Regions from separate parts of the Homo sapiens genome. Here region 1 is linked to region 2. Evidence: promoter capture Hi-C in 16 types of primary human blood cells and fetal thymus (Javierre and others, 2016). All regions are on one chromosome and are shown on one strand. The core of a region is centred on a gene start or on the middle of the fragment in contact, and the rest is flanking DNA. Distances in the headings are between cores, read along the strand shown. Region 1 holds the start of TNKS2 (tankyrase 2). Region 2 holds the start of KIF20B (kinesin family member 20B).

Region 1 (2,700 bases), core at 198-2,697, 2.1 Mb after region 2:
ACTAAGATGAATCATTTCTAGCTTTTGATTTAAAGTGAGAGATACGCAACTTTTCCTTTCACTTGAACACCTAGAAAACCATTGCAGAGTTCTTAATTGGCCTAATTTCAATATTATTGTGTTTAAGGGAACAGATAGGCCCCAGGAGAGGGAGAGAGATGGCAGAGTAGCCTGTCAGTGGGGCAGTCAGAACATACACATTTATTGATTGATTGCTGTCTTCTATGGGTGTGGTTTGTGGTGCCTCAAAACAATTACAACAGTGATTTCAACTTATCACTGATCATAGATCACCATAGCAGATTTATGGGAAGAAAAATGATAAACGCAATCATATTGGTAGTGTTCTAGTCCTAGGTTCGTTCATGCATGTTCATGTTATTGATAAGCACCATAACTTCAATTTCATATGTATAAAAATGCTCAAAAAAGTGTACATCCTCTTTTAGCACTGTAGTGAGTCAACATTCCCCAACAAAAACTGGATTTCCTGAAAAACAGGTTAAGGTAGGAGGTTGGGGGGGGGATGCTTTTCAGAATGGCAAAGGTCAACATGTATCATCTTCTGTAAGTAAAATGTATGTATAGGCATACCTTTCTTTCAGTTTAAGACAAGGGGGTGTAGTGGGGAATTATCGTGTAAAACTACACCAGTATCTTAAGCATGAAAATCAATTATATGCTTTTCTTTTGTTTGTTGGTCAAAGAAAAAGATTATAACTCAGAAAACTTTCTTGGAGATGCGTATGCTCAGTGTATCCAAACTTTAGGCATGTCAGGTACAATATTGATTTACAAAAAGTTCCTCTAATCAATCCTGAGCTAATAACTTACTGTGGAAAGAGTAATTGATCAGAGCCATCCCTCCAATTGGAGTCAACTTCCATGACTGTTCGGATTTCCTTTATTTTGGGGGCAGTTCATCCAAACTTCTATTAAACGGCAACTAGTTCACTTTTGAGAAGTGGTTTACAAGAAACAACAACAACAACAACAAAGCAGTTGCGGAGGAAAGAAAAGAGACAAAGTAAAAAAAACGGAAAAGAAATCTCCCAGGAGAAAGGGATGTGGAAGCTGAAAACACGGACAATTTCCACAGTAAGACTTCCAAAAGAATGTGCAAGATCCGAGCAAAACTTTCAAGGGCTCTTTTTCAGTGTAATGGTAGTGAGAAAGTTCAGCCTGGAAAGCCCAGGGCTTAAAACAACAACAACAAAAAACACAATATGCAGGATCGTTCGGCTTCAGCAGAACCCACCGCAAAGATGGCGGTGGGACGAAGCCCCTTCTCCCGCCGCCGAAGCCTCTCGCCTCACATTTCCCACAAACCCTTCGCGCCGCCTCGCTAGCCGAAACCTGCCCAGCCGGTGCCCGGCCACTGCGCACGCGCGGGACGACGTCACGTGCGCTCCCGGGGCTGGACGGAGCTGGCAGGAGGGGCCTTGCCAGCTTCCGCCGCCGCGTCGTTTCAGGACCCGGACGGCGGATTCGCGCTGCCTCCGCCGCCGCGGGGCAGCCGGGGGGCAGGGAGCCCAGCGAGGGGCGCGCGTGGGCGCGGCCATGGGACTGCGCCGGATCCGGTGACAGCAGGGAGCCAAGCGGCCCGGGCCCTGAGCGCGTCTTCTCCGGGGGGCCTCGCCCTCCTGCTCGCGGGGCCGGGGCTCCTGCTCCGGTTGCTGGCGCTGTTGCTGGCTGTGGCGGCGGCCAGGATCATGTCGGGTCGCCGCTGCGCCGGCGGGGGAGCGGCCTGCGCGAGCGCCGCGGCCGAGGCCGTGGAGCCGGCCGCCCGAGAGCTGTTCGAGGCGTGCCGCAACGGGGACGTGGAACGAGTCAAGAGGCTGGTGACGCCTGAGAAGGTGAACAGCCGCGACACGGCGGGCAGGAAATCCACCCCGCTGCACTTCGCCGCAGGTAACCGGGGCCAGCGTCCCCTCGCCTCGCTCCAGACCCCACCTGCGCAGCCGGGGCCCACAGGTCTGAAACCAGTGCTCCTCCGCCTCCCGACCTTTCTCCAGGACTCTGGTCCTGGTGATCTCGCTCTCTTCCAGTGGGGACTAAGGAGATTAGGGGTAGGGTGAGCGTGCCACACTCGCTGGAAGTTTTTTGTTTTGTCTTGGTTTGGTTTTTTTGCCAGGTGTTGGGGGTGGTTTGGGGTTTTGGCTTTGTTTTGTTTTACAGTATCAACAATACCTGTACCAACTTCCGGTCTTGTTACCCTAGAAGGCCTCTACACACAAGAAAGAGTAGGGGACGTAGTTGATAGACCTTATGATTTAAAAGGTCAGTTACCTCCAAAATTTTTCGTTCTTGCAAGTTCCATTTGGGTTAAGGTCTTGAAGGACTTTGTAAAATACAAGGATGTAATTTAGGAGGAGTAGCTTAATAGGACGTTGACACATTAGCGTTAATTGGTTTATCAGAATAGCCAATCATTACCAAGTTTCTGGAGTGACTAGAACGGGAAATAGGCAAGTTTGGGAGAACTGAAACCTGACTTAGGCTGGGTGCGGGAAGCCTTAGACACACACACATACAAGTTGGGCGGAAAGTGGTAGTATAAGAGAAAAGATAGTGCAAGTACTTTAGCTTGAATCTAGAATTTAAGTTGGGACTAACCTTGCTTCATTCTGAAATTTAGATCGTTTGAATTACATTATTTTAATATTTATTAGGTTCACTTTATGATTTAAGCATATTAAA
Region 2 (2,700 bases), core at 184-2,683:
AGGTACAGGGAACAACCCATGCAAAGGTTCATACATGCTGGAAAGAAGTTGGTGTTTGAGGTATCCAGAGCAGATCAACTTACTGTACAGTTAGTGGGGAGTGAGGTCGGCTGACACTTGATTGTGCAGGACCTGGGAGGCCATGGTAAAGATCAGAATTCTATTCCTTTTCCCCCCTCCTCTTTTTATTTTATAAAATCTGTTATTTTAGAAAGTTGCAAGACTGGTACGATGTACACCATTATACCCTTCAACTAGATTCACCAATTACTAATATTTTGCCACATTTGCTTTCTCTATTTTTTTGCCATATCTTTTGAAGGTAAGCCGCAAACACTGTGACACTTTGCTGCTAATTACTTTAGCAAGCGCCTTCCAAAAACAAAGGCATTCTTCCACTTAATCACAAATTAATTCTCACATGCAATCAATTTAAAACTGATTCAATATCATCTAATATGTAGTTCATATTTAAATTTCCCCAGTTGTCCACAAATGTCTTTCGAAGTTTTTTTTTTTTTTTAAAAACTATGAACCAGCCAAGATTCACAAATTTCATTTGGTTTCTTTTGACTCTCGACTAAAGTAATTTTCCACTTCGTTTTTTTCTTTTTCCTGTCATGACACTGACATTTTTGAAGAGCCTAGGCCTGTTGTCTTGTAGAATATTCTACATTGTTTTTTTCTGATTGTTTCCTCATGATTAATGTCAAACATTTCTAGCACAAATACTATCGGGTGATATTAGCGATGCTAAGTATCTTCACTTGGTTAAGGTATGTCTAATAAATCTCTTCAGTGTAAAATTCTATTTTCCCTTTATAATAAGAAATGATCTGTAGGGTGATTCTTTGAGATACTAACATCCTCTTCCCTACAACCTTTCAGTTAATTGTTTGTTTTAGCATCTTGCATTCATTAGTTTTAGCATTCATAAGCTTACCTATATCAATTTTTAGACTGGCAGTTGCACAATGGGGATGCAGCGAGGGAAGTGACCCTCCGGATCCCGGGATGCCGAGCCTTTTTCTGCCCCGTAGGGACAGGACTGGGAAGTGGCTAGCCCGCCATTCCTCGGCCCGTCCTTAGGGGAGTCGCAGGACTAAGTGCAGTGGCAGTGGCCTCACCTCGGGCCTTCGCCACATCTTTATTGCCTCAAGGACAGAATTGGAGATCGGTGTCCCAGTCAACAGCGTGGTACTTATGACAGCCGCGAGAAAGCGCACTACTAAAGCCCGGCTAGCAGAGCTGGGAGGCAAACCAGACCGTCAGCACCAGGGCGGCCCACGCCTGCTTCCGCCCATTGGCTGCCCGCGTTTCAAGACCCGCCCCCATATTGGAGAGCTTCTTCCGGTAGCCACTGGAAAGCCCGCAGCGCGAGCCGGCTACGCTCCCTGGCGGAGCTCTGGACGCCCCACCTACTCCCAGCGTTCAGTGCGGTGCCCTGGCCGCCATTGTTTGAATTTGAAAACGGTAACATCGCAGTGCTGCTCGCGGGTCTGGCTAGTCAGGCGAAGTTTGCAGGTGAGGAGGTGACCCGCGGGAATGTGTGGGGAAGGAGGTGGGTGACTGCGCATGTATGGGGCCTAAGGTGGGGAAACGGCTTTGGCAATGTGGACATGTTCCGACAGGGCTCATACCCCAGTGGAGGTTACTGTCAGGAACTGGGTTGCGGAGCGATGCGAACACGGGGTACGCAGCGAGGAATGAGTCATACTAATTCGGTTACGGTTTAAATCTCGCCTCCACTGCTAATTAGCTGAGTGACGCAAGACAATTCATTTAATCTCTCTCTGTACCTTAGTTTTCTTATCAGTTAAAAGGCTGCAATGAAGTGTCTATTTCTTTCGGCTTTTGTGAAGATTAAATGGTAATGTGTAAAGTTATTAGTGCTGGCACACAGTAGGTACTAAATGTTTGCAGTTATTAATATTATTATTGTTGTTGCTTCTGTTGTTGTTGAGGAACAGGCCTGTTTTGCCACACCTAGTTTTCTGAAGCTCTGAGGTGAGCAGTTTGCTCGGCTGGTAGGTAACACGGCCTTTTTGCGGGGGGAGCCCTGTGGTAGCCTCTGTGCACTTATTTCCAGACTACTCCTACTGGTCCTTGGGGCTTGCCCTTCTAGGGTTTTGCAGTGCCAGGCTGAAGAGTTTGTGGCACAGTGACTGCTGTCATTCCCCAGTTTAGAAGGCTTTCTCCATCTCGATTCGCTCGCTGGTTCAGTGATGCATGTCTGGCACAGTTCTCTTATATTTCTTGCTAAACTACTAGTTTACAGAAGTTCACGCCTTATGGGTTAGGTAGTGTAACAGTGTATTTATCTTACATGTCCAAGACTCCAGATTTTAAATTGTAAAAATAACATAAAATACTCATCGATTAGTTGTGAAGACTTTTTTTGAGGCTTTGTGTTGTAGACCACATTCAGAAACCTCATTCAGCAACAGATTCTGCTATTTTTCACCAAAGTCTCCAATTGTGGATTCTTATTGGAGAGAGGGTAAATATGCAGTTTTCCAGTCAGAGCAGCCTTTTGAAATGAAAAATGAGGTCTTGGAGCCTGCTGTCACGAAAGATAATATTACAGACTAGGACCGACTTTTTTTTTTTTTTTTGGAATAGTATTTTCTTTATAACCATTATTTTAAGTCATTAGGTAGTCTTTATCCCTGCATAAGTCGCTGAATTTGTTATAGGGGA

What was found. The method cuts DNA at HindIII sites, captures the fragments that hold promoters and counts their contacts. A CHiCAGO score of 5 or more calls a contact.
Region 1: the fragment with the promoter of TNKS2 here is called in contact with the fragment with the promoter of KIF20B in region 2 in 1 of 17 cell types (fetal thymus); the score reaches 6.4 in fetal thymus.

What each region holds. Positions count from the first base shown.
Region 1 is chr10:91,796,979-91,799,678 of GRCh38, forward strand. It overlaps TNKS2 (tankyrase 2), which reads left to right and starts at 1,448. Exons shown (of 27, transcript NM_025235.4): 1 at 1,448-1,911. The coding sequence starts at 1,713. TNKS2-DT (TNKS2 divergent transcript) reads right to left here and starts at 1,313. Exons shown (of 2, transcript NR_108071.1): 1 at 1,259-1,313. RefSeq lists an enhancer at 1,157-1,326 and a silencer at 1,407-1,816. The HindIII fragment of the contact is 6,559 bases long and covers 1-2,700 here.
Region 2 is chr10:89,700,157-89,702,856 of GRCh38, forward strand. It overlaps KIF20B (kinesin family member 20B), which reads left to right and starts at 1,434. Exons shown (of 33, transcript NM_001284259.2): 1 at 1,434-1,524. RefSeq lists a silencer at 956-1,035 and enhancers at 1,080-1,595, 1,596-2,112. The HindIII fragment of the contact is 4,302 bases long and covers 937-2,700 here.